Regions from separate parts of the Homo sapiens genome. Here region 1 is linked to region 2. Evidence: promoter capture Hi-C in 16 types of primary human blood cells and fetal thymus (Javierre and others, 2016). All regions are on one chromosome and are shown on one strand. Each heading gives the region's core, a stretch centred on a gene start or on the middle of the fragment in contact. The rest is flanking DNA. Distances are from core to core; before and after follow the strand shown. Region 1 overlaps NEIL3 (nei like DNA glycosylase 3). Region 2 holds the start of VEGFC (vascular endothelial growth factor C).

Region 1 (6,487 bases), core at 1,484-3,983, 530 kb after region 2:
GATAATTATTGATAGGTACTAGAGTTCATCCCAGAAAGGGCAACCAAAGACTGAGCTTTGAGGACATGGTGGCATATACCTACAGTCTCCAACAGGTTCTTTTTTTGTGATTTGTGCAGAACAGGAAGTGACTGCTGTCTTTTTTTTTTTTTTTTTTTTTTTTTTTTTGAAACGGAGTCTCGCTGTGTCTCCCAGGCTGGTGTGCAGTGGCGTGATCTCGGCTCACTGCAAGCTCCACCTCCAGGGTTCACGCCATTCTCCTGACTCAGCCTCCCGAGTAGCTGGGGCTACAGGCGCCCGCCACCATGCCCGGCTAATTTTTTTTGTATTTTTAGTAGAGACAGGGTTTCACGGTGGTCTCGATCTCCTGACCTCGTGATCCGCCCGCCTCGACCTCCCAAAGTGCTGAGATTACAGGCGTGAGCCACCGCGCCGGGCCTGCTGTCATTTTTAATTACTCCTGTGCATTTAATTTATCTGTCATTCTAAGCCAGTGATTGATTCTCCAGTTCTTAAACAAAGGAGGGATATATAAAGCCAGTCGCCTGAACTTCAGGCAGTTGGAAAATTCTGGCATTGACTGTAGCTATTTCAACCTTGAATGGGTTTAGTGGAAGAATAGTGTCTGTCTCTTTTTTTTTTTTTTCTTTATCTCCCTGTTATCTCTCTTTGAGCTAAGTACTGTGATTGTATCTTAACAAAGACCAATTTAGTGAAATAAAGAATAGAGTGGACATGTCATCTTAAGCATTTAGAATGACAAATGTCTGTAAAATCAAAAGTTTGAGAATCACTGAACAATATCATTTCACTCTAAATTGAGGAAAAATTGTGACTTGTTTCTAGACTCTGTATCTAAAGCTGTTTTATAATTATATCTTGACATTTCCCCACTCCCACTGCCCACCAAGGTTTCGTTCAGAATCTTCTGAGGATCCTTAGGCCCATTTGAGAAAAACACAAAAGAAGTTAGAGGTAAATGAGGATATTACCTTAGACTGAGTTAATGCGTAGATGTAATTCTGTGTACCCTATTTTATCTTATATAATAATTACGCATGTCTTAAGTTTTACATTTTTATTACATTTTGAGTTTAAATTAAATAATGTTTATAAAACATATATAAATAATAAAAAATAATGACATAAGAAACACCAGTATACATAATGCTCAGTTTAAGAAAAAGGGCATTACTAAAATCTAAACCAAACGCCCTTTCTTTTCTTCTCCCACAGAAGAACCTACATTTTATATTTTTGTTTTCTGTTTAATTCATGTTTATAATTTCCTCGAATATCTTATAGGATTCTGCCTATATGTTGTCATTCTAACAATATATTGTTTGGTTTTGCAAGGCTGATGGGGGAAAGGGAATATGAGTTTATTTTTTCTTTATTCTTAACATTGTGCTTGGAATAGGACAGGTCTCAAATTAGATTCCCCTACTCAGGGGGCCGCAGGTTTTTATCTCTGATCTCCTGCACCCTCACAAGATGTGAAAATTGAAGCTCTCATTCCTTAGTTTCATGTGAAAATTGAAGCTCTCATTCCTTAGTTTCAATCAATGCCCTTAGGATAGATGCTGGCTTCACAGCTCTCCCTACTACCTCTCAGGGTTCTCTCCCGCTTTTAGTTTTTGACCTTTTATTATTTCATACTAGCTTAAAAGTTCATCGGTGAAGTTAAAAATATTTTGTTTTCATATTTTATCATCTGTCATTTGTAGCTGTTTTTATCTGACCACTCTTTCAGGGAACTTGGCTATATACTTCTGGAAATGGAAGAACCTATATTCCAGTTTTTAGTTTTAGAACATTCGTGTTGTATTCCTATGCTTTCTTTTCATATGCACAGAGCTATATGGTCCTGGAAGAAACTTTATTTTGCTTGTCTACCAATTACTTTTTTTCACTTAATTTTTTTGGCCTCTCTCTCTTTAAATGACTGCATAGTGATTTGACAAAATGTATGTAAACAGCCGATTACATTACATGACTTGTTGGAGATTATTCTTCTCATTGGAATGCACCTGGGCGTGAAGTAATATAAACACATTTAAGAATTAAATAATGCTTTTGCTTAGAGTTTGTGTGTGTGTGTGCTTATGTGTGTACATGTATTTTCCACTAGGCTGCTGCACTGAATAATGATTCCAGCCAGAATGTCTTGAGCCTGTTTAATGGATATGTTTACAGTGGCGTGGAAACTTTGGGGAAGGAGCTCTTTATGTACTTTGGACCAAAAGCTTTACGGTAAGATAAGCCTGTACGATACATCTTATCTCTCTATATTTAAAGATGCGTAGAAGGCTAGATGGAGTTTGCCGGGTGTCACATTTAATCATATAGGAAGTACTGTGTTTTTAAGAGAGCTCCAATATGAGAGGTTGTGATTCTATCATGGAAATCAATAAACAGCAGAAGAATAAATTCTGATGTCATCATCACTTGGAAGACAGTCATTTTACAGGGCTTCCCAAGATGTATTAGAGCAACACATCTGTTTTGCTAGTCCCCAAGCTTCCTATACCACAAGTCTCTCCTTGTTTTTACCGAATGCTTATTGTATTCAGTGACATCGGTTACTTTATATTTGTGACAGGCCCTAGTTTGGTTTAAATGTATCACTTGATCTTTAAATATTTTTCTGGCTTCCTGCTTTCTCTGAAGCCTTGAATGGAATTTGGAAATTTACTTAGAGAGTGTAAAAACTTTCCAGAGAAATAACAGGTTCTCCATTGTTTCACAGTTCCCATGGAAATTCATGGCTAATATACTGGCAGAGAAGGACTAGCAACCTATTTCCTTTGTTGACTTAATGATAAAAAAGTCAAAATATATGTAATTGTGATGCATGATCACATGTTTAATTTTTGCAGGAAAATGAAAGCGGCCTTTGAGTTAATATGTCTACCCAATCTCATTCTGTCTTTTCTGAGTTTAGCCTAAGCTTTTGCCAACTGTAAAAATTGATACTGCTTCCTCAAATCGTTTTTAGTGCTGTTTAAAGATACTGACCACAGTTATCACCTTTTTCTTAAAAGAAAAGACCTGTTCCTGGACCCCATGCTAACCAAAGGTGAATAATTGTCACAAAGAGATGATACTATATGATTGTTCTTTATTGCATCTCATCTACCACATATTTAGAGTAATCCAGGGTTTATGTAATTGCTTTTCCTTTGAGGTGTTCTCTTTTCATTGTCAGCAGCTGCTGTCCTTGGACAACATTGTCACTTCATGGTTTTGCTTAGTCTGGAATTGATAACATCAGCATATGCCTAGTTGTTCATGCAGTAATGATATATTGCAGGTTACACTGCTGCTGTAGTAGACTGATGTGATGGAAAACTCATAGCTCTGGATAGAGTAGTACACAATGGGATCTATGCACGATAGTTGAAAACATTGATATGTTATTGATTCTCTGGTGTTAGGTACAGATTTATTTCTGTAAGATGAGAGGGGGTTTTTATCAAGTGCTCTCCACCAGACTGATAAGGGGGAAGTCATTTCTCAGCACACGGCTGTCAGTAAGTGTTCCATGAAGTTCTAAACAAGGACAATCACTTCTTCAAACTCATTGAACTAGTGCCCTCCCTGGAGAGTACCTATGTCAGTATATGGGTGGGAAAAATGCAGTGGCTTGCTTCCTTTCAGTTTCCTGCAGCCATAACAACTATTGGATGTAACAATTCAAGGTCAATGGCAGATCTGCTGTTGGAATCTGAACCTAAAATCATTTGCCCCTCTTTTCACAATGTAACAGAAGTTCAAAAAATGTACTTCCAACCTGTGCTTCTTAGAGGAATGGATAACTCTCTCAAAGAAATGTGATCTTTTTGTGAGGCTGCAGGTCTGTGCACCTGCAATAGAAATGTAGTCTTCATTTTTGACTTCTGCCTCCCACCCACCTGGCTCATCTGCATTTGATAGAGCATATAGCAGGAAACACTTTCAAAGGTTGCTCACAGTTTTCCCTTGATACCCAACTTTTCACAAGCAAAATTGCCCGCAGAGTTTAGTCATAAAGTGTGTGCATCTCATAGGTTGGGCCATGAATCTCCTGGGATTCATTGGTTGAATCTCCTGGGATTCATTTGTTAATGAAAGTAGAATACGAGCATAGCCTCTAAAAGAATCTGCCCTGTAAAAATCCACACATCAGAAAGATACAAATTAGAGAGTGATTACTTCTCTACCTACTAAGTGATATATTCAAGTGCTCCTGATAGTGCCAAGGAATACTAAAAATTATTTGATACACATTTATTTTAGGAGCACTATTGTGTTATGTGTGATTAATACCTGTACAACTTCTGAACACTTTCCACTAACTCTTCAACTAAAACAACACAAACGTCACTTGAAGTTTTTGCTACAAATGTAACAAGTACTCAGTAGAGAAAACTGAAAAATAATGAAAATAAGTGTAAAGTAATACATTCTCAATCCCACTACCAGGTGTAATCTTTATTAACTTTGGATGCATACAATGCCACATTGCCAGTATAGTGTGTGCGAATGTTTATATGCATGTTCACCCAGCTGCACTCACACTGAAGCTATCATTTTAATCAAAATGGACATAGCTGTTGCATTTTGGACTAAAATTTAAAAAACAGATAGATAGATAGATAGATAGATAGATAGATAGATAAGTAAATATATTTTTCCAAGACCATTTTCTGTTTCCAGTTTGTGATTTACATGACTCTGGCTTTTGAAGTTATATGTGCTCAGAGACCAGAAACTATATCTGAGATATTTTGGAGGCTTTGCCATTTTAGAAATGCCTTATACATGATTGATTTTATAATTTATTGGGGTTTAAGTATGAACCTCAAACCAGTTATGCAAGAGATAATATAATGATTCTTTTTAGTTTGCTGAAATGTCTTTATTGAATCCATCATATATTACTTATAAAAGAGTTTTACAGCTTCAACATAGTTTCTGTACTATCATATAACATGTTAGGAGAAATAGAAGTGTACTTTTACTCTGTATAATACTTTAAGATTCATTCATACTGTTTGAAGTATCAGTGGTACTTTCTTTTCTTTTACTAAGTAGTCTCCCATTGTATGAACATACCATATTTTGTTAATTCATTCATCAGATGATGGACATTTGGATTGTTTCAAGTTTTTAATATTGTGAATAAAATTGCTATGAATATTCACATACATATGACATATATATGTGGACATACATTTTCATTTCTCTTGGATAAATTACCAAATGACTTAGAAATTCTAAGTCATTTGGTAAGCATATGTTTGACTTTAAGAGGAATTGCCAAACTGTTCTTAAAAGTGGTGGTACCATTTTACATTCTCACCAGCAGAGTATGAGAATTTCAGTTACTCAGCATCTTTGCCAGCACCTGGTATTGTCAGTTGTGTTAATTTCAGCTATTCTAATAGGTGTACAGTGTATCTCACTATGATTTTAATTTTCTTCTCCCTACTAACTAATGATATCTGATGCAATATGCATATTTCCTGTTTGTGTATTTTATAGGGTGATGTGTCTATTAATGTTTTCCTTTTTTATTGGATATATTTTTGTATTATTGAGTTATAGTATTCTGTATATATTCTAGATGTCAGTCATTTATCAGATAACATGTTTTGCAAGTATTTTCTCCCAATCTATGGCTTTTCTCTTCATTTTCTTAACCATATCTCTTCAAGATTAAAAACTTTTAAGTTTGATGAAACCTAATTTATCAAATTTTTTTTTCATGGTTCATTCATACGTTTTGTGACCAGTCTAAGAAACATCTGCCTAATGCAAATTAATCAACATTTCCTTGTTTGTTTTCTTCTGGAAGTTTTATTGAGTTAGCTCTTCTGTTTAGGATTATGATCTATTTTGAGTTCTTTTTTGTATATGGTACAAGGCAGGAGCTGGACTTTGTCTTTTTGCGTGTGTATTTTCCAGCACCATTGTTGACGAGATTATCCTTTCTCCATTGAATTTCTTTGCAACTTTGTTGAAAATTAGTTGACCATATATGTATGGGTCTATTTCTGAACTCTGCATTCAGAAGAATATCAGATAAAGTGATATTCTTTTATCATTTTTTGTGTCTGTCCTTTCACCAATAATACACTGTCTTAATTAAAGTAGCTTTAAAGTCAGTTTAAATTAAGTAGTGTCAGTCGTCTGACTTTATTCTTTTTTTTTTTCAAAATTGTTTTTGTTGTTTTAGTTATCTTTCTACATTTTAGACTTAGCTTGTTGATTTCTACAGAGTTCTTTCTGGCATTTTGATTGGCCTTGTGTTGGATCTATAGATCAATTAGGTGATAATTCACATGCTAACATTATTGTCTTCCACTCCATGAACACAGTATATATTAATATGTATTTAGATCTTCCTTCATTTCTTTATCAGTATTTTGTAATTTTCAGCTTCAGACATATTTTATATTTGTAACTAAGTGGGTTTTTTTGGAGCTATTGTAAAGGGTACTTT
Region 2 (7,098 bases), core at 4,504-7,003:
TTAGCTTTTGGGGCCGGGCGCAGTGGCTCATGCCTGTAATCCCAGCACTTTAGGAGATCAAGTGGATCACCTGAAGTCAGGAGTTTGAAACCAGCTTCGCCTACAAGACAAAACCCTCTCTCTATGAAAAATACAAAAATTAGCCTGCTCTAGTGGCACATGCCTGTAATTCCAGCTACTTGGGAGGCTGAGGCACGAGAATCGCTTGAACCCACGAGGCAGAGGTTGCAGTGAGCCAACATCATGCCACTGCACTCCAGCCTGGGCAATAGAGCATGACCCTGTCTCAAAAAAAAAAAAAAAAAGGAAAGAAAGAAAAAGAAAATGAGTTTTTGGATTTCAAAATTGGAAAAAAAACTATCGTGGATAACTCCTAACACCTGAAAGCCACTAGGGCGCGAGCAGTATAAGGAAACAGTACTAATCCACTGACAAAGCATTTAATGTACAATTTGATTAATTCCATGATGGATGCCCAATAAAGCAAATTAAATAAAAACAGTCTCTGCTTTCTCATGGTTAAACATAAACTCTGAAAAAAAAAATTAATCAACCGAGGAAAGAAGCCACCCCAAAAATTTACACTAGTAAGTTTCAGAAAAACAATTACACAAACCTAAAATATTTATAGTAAATTTTATAATTACACTATAACTCAAACTCATCAGCATCTCTCCTTGTTTAAAGTTCTCTGCTATATCTGTTTTTTCTAATGAGAAAAATCAATGATAACTTAATCCACAATTTATACAAATCTGTACATACAAATATGTGTTTGTAACAAAAGGTAGACCCATATAGTATTTATAAAATGCACATCTACAAGGAATAATGTAACTGGTGAAAGGTGAAACAATATATGCTCAGAAGTCAGAGGAAGTATAACGCTTCTGCCAACTTAAATTTGTTCTTTCCAAATCCACTTATTTGTGAAAGGTCATTTGGCAGAGGTAAAATCACAATCTTTCACTGAAGTTACTTGAGCACAACTTTGAAAAACCGTTTGTCAGAAAATCTTGTTAAGCCTCCAGTTAAGCAGTCGTTCTTATAATATTACCATGGATTAGGTCATTTATAATTTATCTTTAGTCAAACGAACACCATGTGGTAAAGCCTGGAAGAAAGTCTGGGTTTATTTCCGTTTGTCCCGTTGTGGGGAATTAGGACCTAAATAAATGCAACAAGGTGCCCCTAACTGCAAAGTCACACGCAGTGCTTTTCTCTGCCTTCCTGCACGCTGCTATAGTGTGCCAAAGGAGACCAGCAGAGGGGCTGAAAGGAGTCTGAATCACAGGCCCAAAGGCCCAAACCCATTACCACATTTCTCTAAAACATACATGCTTCTCGATTTACGATGGGGCTACATCCTGACAAATTCCTCCTGAGTTGAAAATATATTTAATATACAGTAGAGTACCTGTTGTTTACTCTCACGATCACATGGCTGACTGGTCACAGCTCACTTCCATTGTCCAGCATCCAGAGAAAGTATTTTACTGCATATTATTAGCCCAGGAAAAGATCAAAATTCAAACCTTGAAGTATGGTTTCTACTGAATGTCTATCGACTTTGCACCATTGTAAAGTCCAAAAGTCCTAAATAGAACCATTCTAAGTCGGGGACTGTTGGTATATGCCATAAAACTTTTTTTAAAAGAAAAAAAGGAAAAAAACATCTATTCTTTTTCCTGGTTAAGTCATTCAGATCTTGGGTTCATCATCCTTAATGAAATAAAATAATGTCCATATTATGGAGGTGTAGTGAAAAACAAAACTAACTTGCAAAGCTCTTTGCGAAGTGCTTAACACACGTTATGAACATCACAGATAATGATTATAAACTCCTACTCTCAATAACAACCCCAGGACTGCCAAAGGCAAGCAGGCAAGCACAGTCCCAGGGATTCGGGAAACCTTCATTAGTCTCACGCCAGTTCCTCTGTTGGTGAAAACCCCAGCAAGAGCTGAGAAACAGCATTCTGGGTTGGACACATGGAGATAACTAGGAGGCCAGGACCTTCCTCTCAAGAGGAACCGGAACCAGAACTGGAAGTCCAAAATGAAATCTAAATCCACTACCCTCCGTCTTTCTCAACTCAACTGAAAAGGACAGGATTAGAGATCTACGGGTCTTAGACATATGCCACTAAGATCAGTAATTAACTGCTTTCTATGAAGCAATTTTGATAACTGTCTTGTGAATAAATAGCTATCAATCAGATATTCATAGTTCAGAAGACTATAATGGAGTGGAAATCAAAATGAAAGATGAATTGAACTTTCTATATCTAAAACCTCATATAAGTAGCATCACTCAGAGGAATGTCAGAAATCTCTTATAAGAGTAGATGTTGACAAACATAATCATATACTATAAGAAAAATTGTAAATAGAACAGCTTCAGACTTGCTATTCTCTTTTGTTCCCATCATGTCCAGTTAATTTTACTTTTGCCTGCCTTACTTTTTTGACACTGTCTTGTTTGTGTTAACATCCTTCAGAGAAACATTTTAAGACTTTTCAGTAAGTCATGCAACCACAAATAACTAGAAATAGGAATCCAGTAAATGCAAATATAAGTCGAGGAATAAGGAGATCTTCATTCTATTTGTGATTTTTACCTACAATCTTTTGCATGGCTTTACGGGTGGGCTGAAGGGCTGGATGGCTAACCTTGGTTCATAGTTTGTGTGCTATTTTTGATTTTTTAAATATTAAAAAAGTTCCTAGGTGAAAGTTATGAAAACATTGCATCTATTGGGATTATAGATATTTAGCATCTTCTGTTTACCTTCTGAAATATTTTCTTGGGGTTCATGTAGTTATAGAAAATTAACAATTGATTTCTCCCCAGTTCTTCTCTAGTGCTTAAATCTAAATGTGGTGCTTGTACAGGCCACTAGGGAGAGACATAGAGTCTTCATATCAGTTTCTTGGCAGTTGTGTGACATGTTTCATAGCAAGGACACAGCAGTTTCACTGAATGCATTAATGACACATGCCCTGTCAAGGCTCTATTCACCCACTGGGGAACGACACTTTAATGGAGCAATGAAATACTGCTTTGTGGTCTATGGAACTCAGAGATGATGTTTCATATGGGAAATGATGTTTCATCACATAGGAAAGGAACCCACATCACATGCAGAATACTAACCCATATTCACCATACAGAATATAAAAATGGTTAAATATGAAAAGCGACATTTGCAAACAAAAATGCATAGTGATTTTCACAGCAATGGTAAAATTTGCCATATCACCAATGGCAAATTTTACATCACCAACGAAGACACTTTTGAAAGTTAAAAATAAGTTAACTTTTTTAATCCTCCAATCCCATACCTATACATAACACACGTAAACACACACACACACACACTCAAGGTACATTAATTCTAGACTCACCCAGCAGTGAGTGACTCTCATACAGGCTATTGGCTTATCAGGGAATGTTTCTCATTTTACTCTCTACTGCACATTTTCTTACTGTAAACCAAAGTAAGTGACCGTAACCAATACAGAGATGTTGCCTTACTAAATCATACTTTTACTAGTTTTGACTTTGCAGAAATAGCAAATAGGTACTGCAAAATCAAGGACTCAAATTATCAGAAGCGTTATTGAGCCGATTATTACATTTCTGCGGTATTTAAGAACAGAAAGATATTTTCATCACTATAGTTACGGCAATGTAAGTATAGGCACTGAAAATTATTTTTGTGATTCACAGAATGCAGTCTGTTCTATTTCATGTATATTGTTTTTACTCAAGAGGCATTCCTTTAACCCCTATATTAAATTATTACACATTCCAACATTTTAATGTTTTCCCAAAATTTAAATGCAAAGGTAGTTTGATTTCCAAAAATTAGTCTTCTCAATCTTTAAGTGTATTTCAAAATATAAATATAAATAAAATATTTCAAAATATAAGGCTATTTTCTACACATTGTGTATGTGTTAATCAACAGTCAAATTAAAGTTGACTGTAACACACCACAGGTACCTCTCCACTTGCCACCAGTTGAAATAAACTACCGCAGTATAGTTCCAGCAAGGGGTACTGCAAGTGTTTGAACTGAAATGTCGAATATAACTTCTTTAGGAACTCTCTTAAGCATACTCTATATGGTTATGGCAGGTATGAACTTTTTAGATAAAGATATACTCTTTTGGAAGAGCCAGTAAGAAGTAGGAACACACACAAATCCTTTTTCAAAATCAGGATGCCTCAAAAGTATTTTGGCAACATTTTCAGGCAAAGGATTAAACACCTCTTATTTAAAAGAAAACAAAACAAACAAAAAACCCAAACAAGAAAAAAAAAAACTTAGTTTGCAGTATCTCATGACCAGATTTTAGGAATGAAGAGCTTATAAAGTTGAAACAAGCCTTGCATTGCTTGATTGTGATCTAACTGACTCTAATCTCCCGTTACATCTCAAGTCTGACCAACTTCAAGTGAACTCTGAAAGCTCTGGAGCCTGGTTACTAAAGTCCCTGACACTTTTTTTCTAAAGTCGCTCACAGCGCCTGGTGCTCTGCAGACTATGAACACTCCAGGAAAGTAAGGCTGGGTTGACTGATCACCAGTGTCCCAGAATCTGTTTGGAGTCCCATGAATCAGCTGGGGAAAGAAACGAGCATTTCCCGACCAAAATGAACTCATACTCTCCAGAGCCCCGCTGACTGGGCAGGGTTCAAGACCCCTTGGTTGCCCCAGAGGAAACCAGTCTGAAATAGATTTCGGGATCTCTCACTGGGCACCTCTCCGGGCCCTTCACTCGTGTAACTTGCTTGCCTCTCTAGTAACAACTTTCTATTTAAAAAGAAGAAGATTTTTCTCCAAAGCAGCGTGCACTGAGCTCAGTAACTTTGGATCCCACGTACACAAGCTTAAAGCACACACACTTTCCCCCGCGCAGGTTCTCGGGTCCGCCGCAGACCCTAACGCAAACTCTCGGGTTCTCCGCAAACCCTAACGCAGACCTACCGTGGCCTCGCCCGCGTCGGGCTCCGCGTCCGAGAGGTCGAGTCCGGACTCGAAGGCGGCGGCGGCGGCGGGCGCCTCGCGAGGACCCGGGAGCAGCGCAGCGGCGAGCAGAGAACACGCCACAGAGAAGAAGCCCAGCAAGTGCATGGTGGAAGGACCGGGGGTGGGGGACCGGTCCGCTGGCGGGGGCAGGGGTGGGGGCGCGGGCGCCCCTGCGAGGCCGCGGGCCCCTCCTGGTCCCTCTCCCCCGGGCTCCTCCCGGCGACCCCCCCTGGGCGAGCCGGAGGCGGCGGGAGCGGGTCCGGGGCTCCGCGTTCCCAACTTTGCAGGGCGCCCTCCCAGCCAGTGCCGGGGAAAGGCGGCGGGTGTCAGGTAAAAGCCTCACAGGAAACCGGACATCCGAGCTCCCCGCATTCGGAGCCCGCGAGGTGAAGCGAGGGCGAGGGAGGACGCCGCCGCGGTCCGCGTCGGTGTAGCTTTTTGGAGAGGCGGGGCGGGGGACACCAGAACACCCCGCGATGTTCAGCCCCTCCAAACCCGCCAGAGCCCTCGTCCCCCTCCTCCCTCCCCTTCCCCGAAGTGAGAGGAGCCGGGCCGCGGGCGCTGCGGCGGGGGCGCTGGCGGCGGTGCCGGGGGCGGGAGGAGGGCGGCGGGGCGGCTGGCGGCGGCGGGGCCCGGGAGCGCCGCGGCGCAGGATCCTCCAGAGCGCGCCGGGCTGAGCGGCGGCGGCGGCGGCGGCGGGCGCAGGGGCAGGGCATGACTGACGCGCCCTCTGCCTGCGCTTATGTGAGAGAAAGCGGCCGAGGGAGGGAGCGTGCCGAGCCCGGGCTGCCCTCCCCTCTCACTCTCCCTCGGAAGCCGTCTCCCTGGAGCTCCCCGTTTCCCTCGCCTCCTCCCCGGCGGCCCCACCTCCCCCGGCCCCCCTCTGGATCTCTCCCTCCCCGCCCCTGTCCCCTGCGGGGAGCGGGCGGCCGGAGGGGCAAGTTCAGTCCCGGGGCTGGCGGTTGGCGGGACCGGCTTTAGAGGTGATGCGACCACCCTGGACCACGTGCAGCGGGGAGAAACTGGGCACCGTGGGGTGGAGGGAGCCCCCGCTTTATCCTCGGCCACTCCCGAGTTCTTGTCCTCCCTCCCGCACGCCTGGCCCCCAGAGCCCTGCTCAAAGTTTGGAAATGTCCTGGGGGTTGTAAAAGTTCCAAGAAAAGGTCATCACTATGTCAGAGAACCCTATGGGACCTCGGAGGGGTCCCCTCTCTCCCTTGGTCTGTGTAGTTGAAAGTTGCCTGATGATCCAAGAACCGCAGTTCTCAGGATGCAGTGCAGGCTGTTGGGATGGATGCTAATGATCCCTTTGGAATCCTAAACTTCTGACAGGTGAAGAGAAGGGCCAGAATCTTCGTGGAGAGTAAAGAGACACATTGTCAGCTTCTGCAAGAAGTTGGTTTACTTGAAAAAGGGGGTGATAAAGAGAGATGTGTGTGAGACATATTCCAGAAAGGATGTGTAGCATCCAAAGAAAAGTGACTGCATTTCCCCATTGGAAAAGCACTGGGGTTTCCGTTGGGCTGGTGGCATTGGCTAGCTGCCTCCTTGGGGCAGGGTGAGCAGGTTACAGAGGACCACGCTAAGGGGTTTCAACAGTGTACAGAACATCAAAAGTCTGCCTTTCACTCCCAATCTACTTTTAAGTACACAGATGTTATAGGTCCATAATATCTTACCGGAAGAAGAGACTTTCTTATCTGGTTCAACTCTAGATTTGAAACTCCTCACCCATAATTTACTTGAAGGCTTAAATATCTCAAAGGACAGGGAACCTTCCATTCTGTGTGGCTGTTCACTCCCTTTATTGATGAGCAACACTGCTGAAAAGCATTTCCTTCTATCTCTCTATTGCTTTTGACTCCTGGAGTTTTACACAATAAATCTAATCTCACTTCCACAACTGAGTCCTTCAAATATTTTGAAAATATTTATCATGGTCTCCCTAAGCTAACTTTACTCCTGGCTAAATATCCCTTTTATTCCCCAAGATGACAGTTCCAGTTTCCCCCCTTAACCATACTGTTAGCTTTCCATGTTCATGAAGTATGCGGTTGAGA

What was found. The method cuts DNA at HindIII sites, captures the fragments that hold promoters and counts their contacts. A CHiCAGO score of 5 or more calls a contact.
Region 1: a contact is called between a fragment that was not itself captured here and the fragment with the promoter of VEGFC in region 2, in 1 of 17 cell types (endothelial precursors). The highest score is 5.7, in endothelial precursors.

What each region holds. Positions count from the first base shown.
Region 1 is chr4:177,320,328-177,326,814 of GRCh38, forward strand. NEIL3 (nei like DNA glycosylase 3) reads left to right here. Exons shown (of 10, transcript NM_018248.3): 2 at 2,132-2,253. Among named protein-coding and RNA genes, the nearest start is that of NEIL3, 14 kb to the left of the region's middle. The HindIII fragment of the contact is 430 bases long and covers 2,519-2,948 here.
Region 2 is chr4:176,787,169-176,794,266 of GRCh38, forward strand. It overlaps VEGFC (vascular endothelial growth factor C), which reads right to left and starts at 5,754. Exons shown (of 7, transcript NM_005429.5): 1 at 4,997-5,754. The coding sequence starts at 5,143. The HindIII fragment of the contact is 3,942 bases long and covers 4,897-7,098 here.